2 separate regions of the Homo sapiens genome follow, and region 1 is linked to region 2. Evidence: promoter capture Hi-C in human tissues and cell types (Jung and others, 2019). All regions are on one chromosome and are shown on one strand. Each heading gives the region's core, a stretch centred on a gene start or on the middle of the fragment in contact. The rest is flanking DNA. Distances are from core to core; before and after follow the strand shown.

Evidence for each region. The method cuts DNA at HindIII sites, captures the fragments that hold promoters and counts their contacts. A contact is called where the count stands out against the background at its distance.
Region 1: a fragment that was not itself captured here is called in contact with the fragment with the promoter of IL17D in region 2 in 1 of the 25 tissues and cell types used here (liver).

Annotation. Positions count from the first base shown.
Region 1 is chr13:20,642,591-20,649,376 of GRCh38, reverse strand. IFT88 (intraflagellar transport 88) reads right to left here. Exons shown (of 26, transcript NM_006531.5): 19 at 5,772-5,922; 20 at 4,419-4,534. Among named protein-coding and RNA genes, the nearest start is that of IL17D, 58 kb to the left of the region's middle. The HindIII fragment of the contact is 3,594 bases long and covers 454-4,047 here.
Region 2 is chr13:20,702,376-20,708,811 of GRCh38, reverse strand. It overlaps IL17D (interleukin 17D), which reads right to left and starts at 5,113. Exons shown (of 2, transcript NM_001385224.1): 1 at 4,521-5,113. The coding sequence starts at 4,810. RefSeq lists silencers at 4,292-4,801, 5,092-5,231, 5,652-5,731. The HindIII fragment of the contact is 9,244 bases long and covers 2,674-6,436 here.

The sequences.
Region 1 (6,786 bases), core at 1,001-3,500, 57 kb after region 2:
ACATACTTGTGAATTTTCCAGTTTTCCTTCTGTTATTAATTTCTAGTTTCATTACATTATGACAGAAAAAGATAATTTGTATGAGTTCAATCTTTTCAATTTATTAAGTTGTGGCCTAACCTATGGTTTATCCTGGAGAACGTTCCATGTACACTTAAGAATGTACAATCTCCTGTTGTTGGGTTCAGTGTCTTGTGTATGACTGTTAGGTCTACCTGGTTTATACATTGCTTAAGTCTTAATTTTCTTATTTATCTTCCGTGTGAGGTTCACAGACGGTAACACACATTTTTAAAAGTATTAAGTCTCAAACTAATATGAGGTCTATTTCACCCTTTAATTATATCAATTTTTGCTTCATATATTTTGGGGCTCCTCTGTTGGGTTTTTAAGTGTTGTACATTCTTGCAGTAACGAACCTTTTACCAATATATAGCATCATTCTTTGGCTCTTGTAACCTTTTGTGACTTAAAGCCTGTTTTGTCTGACAATAATAAAGCCTCCCAACTCTCTTCTGGTTACCATTAATATTTGTTTGGAATATCTTTTTCAATCCTTTTGCTTTCAACCTCTTTTGTGTCCTTGTATCTAAAGTGCATCTCTTGTAGACAGTATATAAATAGACCCTGATTTTCTTATTCAATCTGCTAAGTTTTTCTTTTAATGGGAAAGTTTAATAAATTTATATTTAATGTGATTATTGACACAGAAGGATTTGCTTCTGCTATTTGTTTTCTGCATGTGTTATATGTTTTTTCTTCCTCAATTCTTCCATTACTACTCTTTTTTGGTATTTTGTTGATTTTTTTTAGTGTACTATTTCGATTTTTAGTTATTTTCCTAATACTTTTTTATAGTGTACTATTTGATTTCTTAGTTATTTTCCTAATGATTACCTTGGGTATTATAATTAACATCTGAAACTTATAACAATCTCACTTGAACAATACAAACTTATTTTATTTATTTATTTACTTATTGAGATGGAGTCTCGCTCTGTCACCCAGGCTGGAGTGCAGTGGTGCGATCTCTGCTCACTGCAACCTCCGCCTCCCGGGTTCAAGCGATTCTCATGCCTCAGCCTCCTGAGTAGCTGGGACTATAGGCACCTGCCACCACACCCAGCTAATTTTTGTATTTTCAGTAGAGACAGAGCTTGGCCATGATGGACAGGCTGGTCTTGAACTCCTGACCTCAGGTGATCTGCCTGCCTGGGCCTCCAAAGTGCTGGGATTACAGGTATAAGCCATCACGCTTGGCCAGGATACAGAATCCTTGGTTGACAGTTTGTGTTTTGTTTGTTTGTTTGTTTGCTTTTAAATTTCAGGACTTTACATCATTCCATTGCTTTCTGGCCTCCAAGGTTTCTGGTGAGAAATCTACTAATAATCTTACTGAGGGTCCCTGTATGTGATAAGCCACTTTTCTCTTGTTGCTGTCGAGATTCTCTCTTTGTTTTTGGACAGTTTGATCATAATGTGTCTCATTGTGGATCTTTTAGTGTTTTTCCTACATAGAATTCACTGGCCTGTGCAGACTTCTGGATTCATGTCTTTCCTCAAATTTGGGAAGTATGGCAATAATTTCTTCAAATAGTCTCTCTCCTCCCTTTTCCTCTCTCTTCCCCTTTTGGAATTCCCATAATGCATATATTGGTCCACTTGATGGTGTCTTATAATAACCATCATCACAATCAATATTAAAGAACATTACCTAATGCTGCTGAAGAATGGAATTACATTAAGTGGACCAGTCAGAACTAGGGTTTCTTGATATTTTAAGACATGATTTATGAATGTAAAGAAAATAAAACAACAGTTTATGCTTAAACCAATTGCCAAAACATCATATTATTAAAAACCATAAAAATCTAAGAGATACAGCAAGGCAAGGAGTTTCTATGGTAAAGAAATTTAATTTAATTCAACTATATGCCAAGTTGACATGTAAAGAATATTTAAAGAATATGTAAAGAACTATGTGACATAAGAACTAATACTCTCACTTCTCAAAAAGCCTACATTTTTATTGTAGAGGTAGAACTTACAGAACAAATCAAAGCTTAGCATGTAAAAAAGAGAAAATGTGAAAAATTAAGATATATGGTATAGAAAACAAATGCTCAAAAGAGATGTAATATAATGAATGTATATTGAATAAGTTTCTGTCACTGAGAAGGAGATAACAGCAGGTGCAAGTGGAAGTAAGTTTATAGAAAAGTAGAGAGAAATGTTAGGAAGGTTTCTAAAAAAGGCTTCTATATTCTGGGAAACCGAGGCATAAAATACATAGGGGAATTGAAGAGATCAGAGAAACAGGAGGGAGAGAAATACTTAAGACTGATGAGCAGTGCTCATATCACACAGATTTGTGTAGCATCAATTCACCTGGTTACATAATTTACCTTTGACAGTATTTCACAGCCTGTGTAAAGGAATGGAATCAATGGCTGGAATAACCTAAGAACTGAAATCTCTTGGAATAAATGGGGTAGTAAAGCGAGAGAGAGAGAGAAAAAAAAAAACAGGAATGTTAGCAAGAAAGGGAAAAGATGTGACCAATTAAGCAATCTAGTATGGATAAGCTCAGAATTAAAGTCAGAAGGAGGCTGAGACTGCAAGATAAGGGGAAGGTCAAGAGGGGAGGTCTCAATATCACCAAAGAAAAATGCACTGGAAAATAGGGAGTATGGAAGTTGGAAAGGTAAGAGGTTATGTTCAGACAGCTGGACATTGTAACTTAAGATTTTATTGGTGTAGGCTGGGCGTGGTGTCTCACGCCTGTAATCCCAGCACTTTGGGAGGCTGAGGCGAATGGATCACTTGAGGTCAGGAGTTCAAGACCAGCCTCACCAACATGGTGAAACTCCGTTTCTACTAAAACAAAAACAAAAACAAAAACAAAAATTAGCCGGGTGCAGTGGCATGTGCCTGTAATCCCAGCTACTCTGGAGGCTGAGGCAGGAGAATCGCTTAAACCTGGGAAGCAGAGGTTGCAGTGAGCCGGGATCACGCCACTGCACTCCAGCCTGGGCGACAAAGCAAGACTCCGTCCTCTGTCTCAAAAAAAAAAAAAAAAAGATTTTATTGGTGTAAATGTGTTAGTGATAATCACAATCAGATGAGTCAGGTGACTGAACTACAGAGAGGGTAAAGATCAATGGAGTTAGGGAGGTCAAAACTTGTGGGACTAGAATAGTGATGGAAAGAAAAGGAAGAATATAAGCTAGACTAGGTAAGGTAAGGGACTGACTGTTAATCAACATCTGACATTTACAAATAGGAGTTAAAAATGGAACAGTGGCGGACTGAGCCTCAAAGAAGGAAGAGTGTTGCATGAGCTAATGGCTAATGTTAGAGTAGTATTAAGTGTAATTAAAAAGCTTACAGTGTATTACTGAAATAGCTTTAATCTTAAAGATATAATTAAACTAAAACTATCTCCTCATCCTTGGTAATTAATTTTATAATTCTCAAAAGAAATTTATGTGAAATAAATATCACAAAATGAATTGCCTAATAGAAATTCCAAACAGAAATCATTTCACTTATTAAGCATTTCTTTATCATTCAAATTATTCTAAGGGGCATTTGTTCTTAAAATTCAATATGGCCAAATACAAAGCAGAAGATGATGTATTCCAATTATTTTTGAATTGTTTTGAATCAGATATGTATAACACATTCTGATACGAACTTAAAGACACTGAAAACATTTTAATTTTTCATATATATTAATTATAAATTGAAACCAACAAAACTGTCTTGTATTAAGACTCTTTTAGAGATGAAACTTTGTCCTAGGACTGAGATAAGTCATTTTCTGATTGATAAAGGAACAATAATTGTTTGCTGAGGTGTAAGAAAAATACATAAAGAAAAGTATCTTAAAGAGGATATTTAAAAAATTCTATGCAAAGGGAAATATATTTATCACAATAAAGACCAAGTAAAATGGAATAAAATATAAGAAAATAAAAATAATTTGGCTGGGCGCGGTGGCTCATGCCTGTAATCCCAGCACTTTGGGAGGCTGAGGCAGGTGGATCACCTGAGGTCAGGAGTTCGAGACCAGCCTGGCCAACATGGTGTAACCCTGTCTTTACTTAAATACAAAAAATTAGCCAGGCATGGTGGTGCGTGACTGTAATCCCAGCTACTCGGGAGGCTGAGGCAGGAGAATCGCTTGAACCTGGGAGGCGGAGGTTGCAGTGAGCCGAGATCACGCCATTGCACTTCAACCTGGGCAACAAGAGCGAAACTCCGTCTCAAACAAACAACAAACAAACAAAAATAATTTATGAATGTCCATCAACATCTGTTCTTGAATTTACTAGGTCTATCAGATACTAATTCTAGGGATTAAAAAAACTCAAGACATGACATTAACTAAACATAAAATCCTAATGATTACTTACTGTATAAGAGAAGCTCTTTCAAAGTACTGAATAGCTTTTTCCCAAAATTGGGTGTCAATGTAATAGGCTCCAAGCCACTCAATGACTTCAATATTACAAGGAAAATACCTATATGACTGTAAAACAAATATGGAATGTAACAATACAACTTCAATGGCAACATATAATTTACTTCTTGAATACTTTACCTATTGAATAAATTTATCCAATATGGAATTTCTTAATAAAGGAGTATGAACTGTCCTAAGTACTTTGTAAATTCTGAAACTATATAATATTTAGAAAACCTAAGCTTTGCTTGACACACTTTTCAATTATCTATACTTTTGATATAACAATATATGAGCTGAGTCCAATTTAAATATTTAAAAGAATAAAAAAGAGATGCAAATCGTGCCTCAAGAGAAAAATGAACTGGTACTTCTTTTTATTATTAATATTATTAATTATTATTATTTTAAGACAGTCTCGCTCTGTCACCCAGCCTGGAGTGTAGTAAATGCGATCTTGGCTCACTACAACCTCTGCCTCCCAGGTTCAGGCAATTCTCGTGCCTTAGTCTCCTAAGTAGCTAGGATTACAGGCATGCCACAACCACATTTGGCTAATTTTTGTGTTTTTAGTAGAGAGGGGGTTTCCTCATGTTGGCCAGGCTGGTCACATACTCCTGGCCTCAAGTAATCTGCCTTCCTTGGCCTCCCAAAGTGCTGGGATTAAAGGTATGGGCCACCAGGACTGTCCTTTTATTATTATTTGTAGAGATGGGGTCTTGTTATGTTGCCTAGGCTGTTCTTCATCTCTTGGTCTTAAGCAATCCTCTCACTCTGGTCTCCCAAAGTGCTGGGATTATAGACGTGAGCCACCATGCCCAGCCCTATTTCATTTTTTCATTAAAACAAGTAAAAAACTAACTTCAGGCCTGGCGTGGTAGTAATCCCAGCACTTTGGGAGGCTGAGGCAGGCAGATCACCTGAGGTCAGGAGTTCGAGACTGGCCTGGCCAAGATGGCAAAACACCCCTCTACTAAAAATACAAAAATTAGCTGCACGTGGTGGCAGGCGCCTGTAATCCCAGCTACTCGGAAGGCTGAGGCAAGAGAATTGCTTAAACCCAGGAGGAGGAGGCTGCAGTGAGCCGAGACTGCACCACTGTGCAGCAGCCTGGGCGACAGAGCAAGACTCTATCTCAAAACAAAACAAAACAAAAACTAACTTCATTTTCCAAGAATGCTTTATTTTAAATAAATCATTTTAAAACTGGTAAGATCTTCTAAAATTTTAAAGCCTTGCTGCCTTCTTTATAACAATTCATAAAATGCTAAAACACAGAAGGAAATTAAGATAACACACCTACCTCATAGTAATATTGAAATGCTTGAGATTTATCTCCTTCACGATCATATAATTCTCCTAGCTTAGATAAAACTTGAGGATCGGTTGGAATAACACTGACCACCTGCATTAGCCATTCAATAGCTTGACTGGGATTTTCCATTAATTCATATCTTATGCAATGTCAGTTAAGGAAAACATGTTTTCTAAATTCATTAAGCAATAAGCAAACTTAAAAAACATTACAGTAACAATATTTCTTAGCCTACAGTAATGTGCTATTGTATACTGTTTCCTCTGGATATCTCAGGGGTGGAGATGGAATGCAGCAGTACTGTGGAGGTAACACTCTTGCTCCCTATGTATATAGCCTGCTTTCCCTTTTCCTCCATTACTATCCACTAAGATCAACTCCCAAATTTCTGGTAGAATTATTCAAAGTATTGTCCAAAAATTGTCCTTAATAAAAATGTCCTGAATGTTGCATCCAGTTATTCTTTTTCTTAACATGTTCAGCATATTAAGGAAATTATTTCCATGTGTTTTTCCTGTGAGTTTTCCCTAATTAGATTATAAACCCAAGGACAGTGTTGTTTTTTTTTTTTTTTGTAGCTTCCTTTTAGTACCTACTAAGTCTTCGGTGTATATACAAATAATTTATTCATATCAGTACTTTTTGATTAATTACTATTTATTTTATACATATTAGATATCTCAGTGAAATGAAAATATTCCAATTCAAAGTTTATTGAAAAAGAAGCATTGTTTTCAATGGTGACAAGAGTGACACCAGAAGATCTACTGTTTTTAACGATGACAAGTGTGATACCACAAGAAAAAAAAAAAAGAAAATGTACTCAAACAGTCTCAAATACATCAGTTGCTTGACTGGATCCAAGCTGATCATGAACTGGGTGGTAAAAGATAATGACACTGGCAGTTTCAGAGAAATTAAATGAACAAAACAGAACAAAAAGACTAACAGGAGTAACTATGATGCTATCTGCTCTAAAACTAATTTTTTTTTGAGATAGTCT
Region 2 (6,436 bases), core at 3,864-6,363:
TAGCCAGGATGGTCTCGATCTCCTGACCTCATGATCCTCCTGCCTCGGCCTCCCAAAGTGCTGGGATTACAGGCGTGAGCCACCGCACCCGGCCGTCACTGGTCCTTTTCTTACTGATTTGTGGGAGCTCTTTAGGAATGAGCTCTTTGTGACTTGGGTTGCAAACATTTTTTCCCAGTTTGCCCTTGTATTTTTCTTATTTTACTTTACCAAGAAGAAATGGTGTGTAATTATGTAACTTCATTTCTCAATCTTGTCTTCTGTGACTTTTGGGGACTGTGAGCAGCTAAATAGGGCCTCCTCCACTCCAAGATTATAAATATAATTGCTTGTGTTTTTCTCTGCTTTTGTGGTTTTTTTACATTTAAATGTTTGATTCATCTGGAATTCATTTTCACAGAGGAGTGAGGCCCAGGCTGTCCCAACACCATTTACTGAATGACCCAGGTCTCCATTCCATCCGTATGGAAAGCCACCTTCCAAATGCCTATTGTAAAACTTATCCACCTAAAGTGATCCTTGCTGTGCCCATCAGTACTCCTGACGTTCAGTCCATCTCCCTATCTGTCTTTCTCAGCATTCTCTCTGACTGCTGTGCCTTTAGGGCGTGGTGGCTTGGGCCTGTAATCCCAGCACTTTAGGAAGCCAAGGCAGGCAGATCACTTGAGGCCAGGAGTTCGAGACCAGCCTGGCCAACATGGCGAAACCCTGTCTCTACTAAAAATACAAAAATTAGCTGGGCGTGGTGGCATGCACCTGTAATCCCAGCTACTCCAGAAGCTGAGACAGGAGAATTGCTTGAACCCAGGAGATGGAGGTTGTAGTCTGCCAAGATCATGCCACTGCATTCCAGCCTGGGTGACAGAGCAAAACCCTGTCTCAAAAGAAAGAAAGAAAGAAATACCACCTGACCCTGTGCCCAGCCTGCAGGTGGGCACTCCTCTACCCAGGCCCCACCCTCAGACACTCCACCAAGGAACAAGCCCTGGCCTGGCACCATGGCTTACGCCTGTAATCCCAGCACTATGAGAGGCTGAGACAGGAGGGTCACTGGAGCCCAGGACTTCAAGACGAACCTGGGCAACAAAGTGAGGCCCCCATCTCTAAAAAACAAAACAAAAAAACTAGCTGCATGTGGTGGTGCGCACCTGTGGTCTCAGCTACATGGGAGGCTGAGGTAGGAGGATCCCTTGAGCCTAGAAGGTCAAGGCTGCATTGATCTGTCTGTGTCACTGCACTCCAGGCTGGGTGGCAGAGCGAGATTCTGTCTAAAAGAAAAAACCTGTCCTTCCACAACATCTTTTAGTAGAGGCTCCACACTTCCATTGGCTCACTATTTCTTTTCCTTTTTTTTTTTTTTTTTTTTTTTTTGAGACAAGTTCTCACTCTGTTGCCCAGGCCGGAGTGCAGAGGCACAATCATAGTTCACTACAGCCTCAGCCTCCCTGGCTCAAACTTCCCAAGTAGCTGGGACCACAGGCAAACATGACCACACCTGGCTGTTTTTTTTGTAGTGATAAGTCTCATACTATGTTGCCCAGGCTGGTCTCAAACTCCTGGGCTCAAGTGATCCTCCCACCTCCGCCTCCTGAGTAGCCGGGGATTTACAGGTGAGCCACTGGGCCTGGCTGGGTCTCACTTTTTCTAATCTTCCCAATAACCCAAAAGATGGTGAGAGGTGATTGGAGGGAGGAGGGCAGAGAGGGCTCTCCTGGCAGGAAAATGCAGGAGCAGCTTTGGCAGTCAGCAATCTGGAGTCCCAGCCCAGCAGCCATCCCCTGAAGACTGTCCTTCCTTCAGCAAATATAAGCCACCCACCTCCGTTTGCCCATGGGGAGTGATCTCATCACTGTTGCTAAATAATATGAAAAATGATGCACATGACACCTTCAGCCACCCTGCTGCAGCTGCCACTCCTGCTCCTGGGACCACCCAGCACTGAGGTTCCACATGTGGGCAGATCTGGGTGGCCCAGACCACGATCCCCGAACCCTGTGTGTCATTCTCATCCATAACCTCCCTCGGCTCCCAGATCCTGCCTGGGGCGACATAGGTGTCATCTGTAGCAAGGGCAACTCAATTTAACTTCCCACACACAGAATGCCAGTGCTGCTAACTCTCCATGTGTCCTCCAGCCCTGCTCTGTCTCCTGAGCTCCAACCAGTCATTGTCACCTGTACGCCTTTCAGGCAGGCAAAACTCAACAGGCTTGTTACTAAATTCATTATTTCCTCCCACAACACTTGTTCCTAAGTGTATTTTCTCATTTTGCTCAAATACCATCAACAACCCAAGCCAGAAACATGAGAGACATGCCTTTGGGAGGCTATATACTACTCTTAGGCCCTTGGCCCAGCCTGTGGGGAGCCACGGGTTTGCCTGAGAGTTCGAATCTGCTATAGAAAGCAGGGCCAGCAGCTTCTGTCCAGAGAAGTTAATCTCTGGTTCTGAGAGATTCCTTATGTGGCTTTAATCCTATTTGGTATATCAGAAGCATAACACGAGGTTAGAGAAAGAAGAATGCCGTAGTCCATCCCTTCAGGTCCTGGAAATGGAGGAAGAGAGAGGAAAAGCAAGAGCACCAAGATACCAGAATGAATGGCGCCATGTGTGTGCCCTGCAGGCTCCAGCTGAAGGACAGGAGTGAGAAGGGCGGGAGGGGTCCCACCCAACTTCCCCGTGGGCAGGGGCTCTGAGGGGGCTCTGCCACAGTGAGCTTGGTCCTCTGCAGAGTAGCCAGGAGGCAGGAGGCCCTAAAACTTGGCTTCCCAGGACAGCATAGGGGTCCTGTGTGTTGTTGAGTAAAAGGAAATCTCCCTACCCAGCAGCCGGCAGGGAGAGGCTCCAGGAAAGCCCAGATGCGTTTTAGACAAAATCATCACATTTCCTCTGACTCTCCACAGCACTTGTCTTCTTTAATGAGCATCTTTCACGCTGATCCTAGTCTCCCCTTCCCACCGCGCTGCCTGAGTGAAGCCCTAGATCCTTTGGATGGAAGTGCTGGAGAGCATTGTCCAATCCATGCCCCATTGGGACACCCTCCTAAACCAGAGTGGCTGTATGGCTTCCTCCATCTCAAGTGTCAAGACTTTTTTTCTCTTTAATTTTTATTTTAGAGACGGGGTCTCGCTTTGTCACGCAGGTTGGAAGGCAGTGGCGCCACCACAGCTCACTGCAGCCTGAACCTCCCGGGCTCAATCTATCCTCCCACTTAAGCCTCTGGAGTAGCTGGGACCACAGGCACGTGCCACCACACTTCGCTAATCCTTAAAAATTGTTTGCAGAAATGGGATCTCGCTATGTTTCCCAGGCTGGTCTCGAACTCCTGGACTTAAATCCTCCTGCCTCGGCCTCCCAAAGTGCTGGGATTCCAGGCGTGAGGGTGAAGCTCTGCACTGCTGACAAGGCGGGGATCCAGCTCCTGCACCTGTCTCCAGCCTTACATCGATGCCCACCCCACAGGCAAACACCTCGCCTACGCCCCCCCACCCCCACCGCCCCCGCTCGCCTTGTGGCTCTCCCCATTTTCCAAGCGCTTTGTTCCCGCTTGCTATCAGCTGTCCCTTCCCTCAGCACTGCCTTTGTAGGCGACTTGCTCTCCTCCATCAAGACTCAGCTCTTTCACGAAGCCTTTCTTGACCTCTGTGGCCCTGGGAGGCCTTGCCCCCTAGGGCAGCTCCTCCTGCTCCAGCTAGAGGGAAGACGGTCACAGGTGCCTGCTGAGGACACTGCGGCACCCTGCCTACACGCCCCCAACTTCTCCAGCCTTCCCCTTCTGCAGGCTGTCCCTTTCTTCTGAAATGACCTCTGTTCCAAGACCAAAATACTCTCGAAACTGTTCATGTCACTTCATGCACTGCCTGATGGTGTGGTTTCTTTCCCAATTATCCCCACTCCTTCCTTAGGCTATTAAACTAGAGGGGCTCAGAGGGCGCTTCCCAGGGCTCCACTCCAGCAGCCTCTGGACCACAGGGGCACTCAGGAAATATGTGGATAGTACCGCGCACCCCCCAGCAGCACCTCCCCGGGCCCCCTGTGCAGAGTACGGTCCACATCACTGTGTCCACATCACGGAAGGGTCCCCAGCTAGTGCCTTGCGGACCCATCCAACCTGGAGGAGATGAGGTGTTCAAGAGATACGTGTTGCATAGGAAATACTGGAGGGTAAAGAGAGGAAGCAGGACTCCTTCAAGGGAGGTGGTGGGGGTGGGCCTTCGCAGTTTAGGAATTGCCCCCCAGTGCTCCAACTGCCCCGCCCCACCCCGCCTCATCGCAGCGCCCCTCGCACCCCACCCCACCCTACCGTACCCTACCCTGTCTCGCCCCGCACCACCCCACCCCTACCTGCTCCGCCTCGCCCCGCGTGCCACGCCCCCTCCGCGTCGCCCCGCCCCAACCACCTCCCCTTCCCCGCCCCACCCTCCCCGCCTGCCCGGCCTCGGCCCGGCCCCACCCACTCTCCCCGCCCAGCCCTGCCCTCCCCACCTGCCGGGCCCCGCCAGGACGCGCCCGCGGCTCACCTGTAGGCCCAGGGCGACACGCTGCGCAGGTTGGTGGGCGGCCGGAAGCGGCGGTCGGCGGGCCTGCCCCCTGCCGGGCAGCTCGCGTTGCGCGCCTGCTCACGCGGCCCCAGCTGCAGCGTGTGGTGGAAGGCACTGAGCACGCCGGCCGCCAGGCGCCCGTACAGCTGCTCCAGTAGCTCCTCCGGCCGGTCCGCGCAGCCCCGCGGCCGCGCGGGGCGCCTGCCCGCCCTCGGGGCGCCCGCGGCCCAGCTCGGCGGCAGCGCCAGCAGGAAGCCGGCTACCAGCATCCAGACCTGAGGGACAGGCCACGCTCAGCGTCCGCACGCGCCGGAGGAGCCCGCCTGCGCCCCGCGCCCGTGTCCCGCCCGCGGCGCCCGGAGCCGGCGGGCGCCTCCCCTCGCCCCGCGGAGCCAGAGGCCGGCCCGGAGGATGGGAGCCGCGCGGGCGGGCCCCAGAGCGCCCTCCCCGCCTGCCCGCCGCCCGCGGGGTCCCCGGGGCCCAGCCCGGCGCCGGCCCGCGCGCCCCCGGCCCCCGCCGCCGCCGCCGCCCCGAGCCGGGGGCCGCACGGGGGGCGGGTGCGGGGCGCGCGTGCACGTGTGCGTGTGCCTGCCGGGTTGCTGCGCCGCGGGCTGCGAGTGCTTGTGACCCGCCGCACCCTCACCCCCGGGCGCGCCATCCCTGCTCCGCCGCCAGCGAGGGAGCCCCGGAGCCTAAGACGCCCGGACCCGCCGCCTCGCAGACCCACCCTTGCCCCTGCGCCTCGTCATCCGCCCGCCCCAGCCAGCCCGCGCAGGGTCCGCGGCCCGCTTTTCCGCGAGAAGCCCCCTGTGGTCTTTCCTCGTACCCGGGGACTCGGACCGAGAAGCCGACTGAGCGAGGTCGCCGCCCGGCCTCACGGACACAGAGCGACTCTGCACCTTTCGCCTCCAGGAGCTGAAAACATTTTGTCACTTGTGCAGTGTACTCACCAGTGCCCCCAACATCTTCTCCCCCGAAAGCGCTTTCAGATTCGCGCCGAGATGGGGCGACGCGGCGGCTCTTGAGCGGAATAACCCGAAGGGCCACGCAAACTGGGGCTTCCAGCCGCGAGCATGCGGCGGGGCGCCCAGGGCCTGGGGTCGCGCGCTCAGGGCCTGTGCTGCGCCACGCAGGAGGAGGAGAGGGCTGGCCCTGCCGGGCGCGGGTGCGGGCCCGACTGGCTGAAGGAGGAGTGGGGACTGGCTTGGAAGTCTCCGAAGCAGAAAAGTGGGGCCGACAGGATGGAATTGGGGGAGGCCGATTTTGGCTCAGAGAGATTTCTCTATTAAGGAAAGCAGTCCAAGAATAGGCCCCCTGGAAGAGGAATGCGCTCAAACCCAGAGGGATTCTCCTTAGAGCTACCTCTTGAGATTCTGTACTTCGAGGAAATTAGAGGTTTTTTTAAATCTCTATTTTTAATAAGGTGGGAGGAGGCTGTTGCTCCTTTCTCCTCAACAACATGAAATGATCCTGTGCCTCTATCCAACAACTCTACAACAAAGCACTGAATACTTCCCTGACTGGCACTTTCATGGCTGTTCATGGGCATCTCTTGGTCTATGACGACGATGTTGGAGAGTTCCTACTCCGTGATAACTCAGTTCTAAGTGCAAGCAGTCACGTGAAATGAGCCTGATAGTCTGCGAATGAAGAAACTAAAACGAACTATATTATATACTTCATAACACAAGACAACGTGCTCGTTTGTTCATTCTGCAAGTAAATGCTTAATGCTTCCTAGGTGGCAGGCTAAAGAATATGATCATTTTAAAGCAGTCATGCTTTGAAAATAAACAACCCATCCCAGCTGTAAGCTTTTTGAAAGTGTACAAAATATGTAATTGATGACTCCCTAAATGGTTTGCAGCTTTGGTATTTGACTGAATTGTAAACCA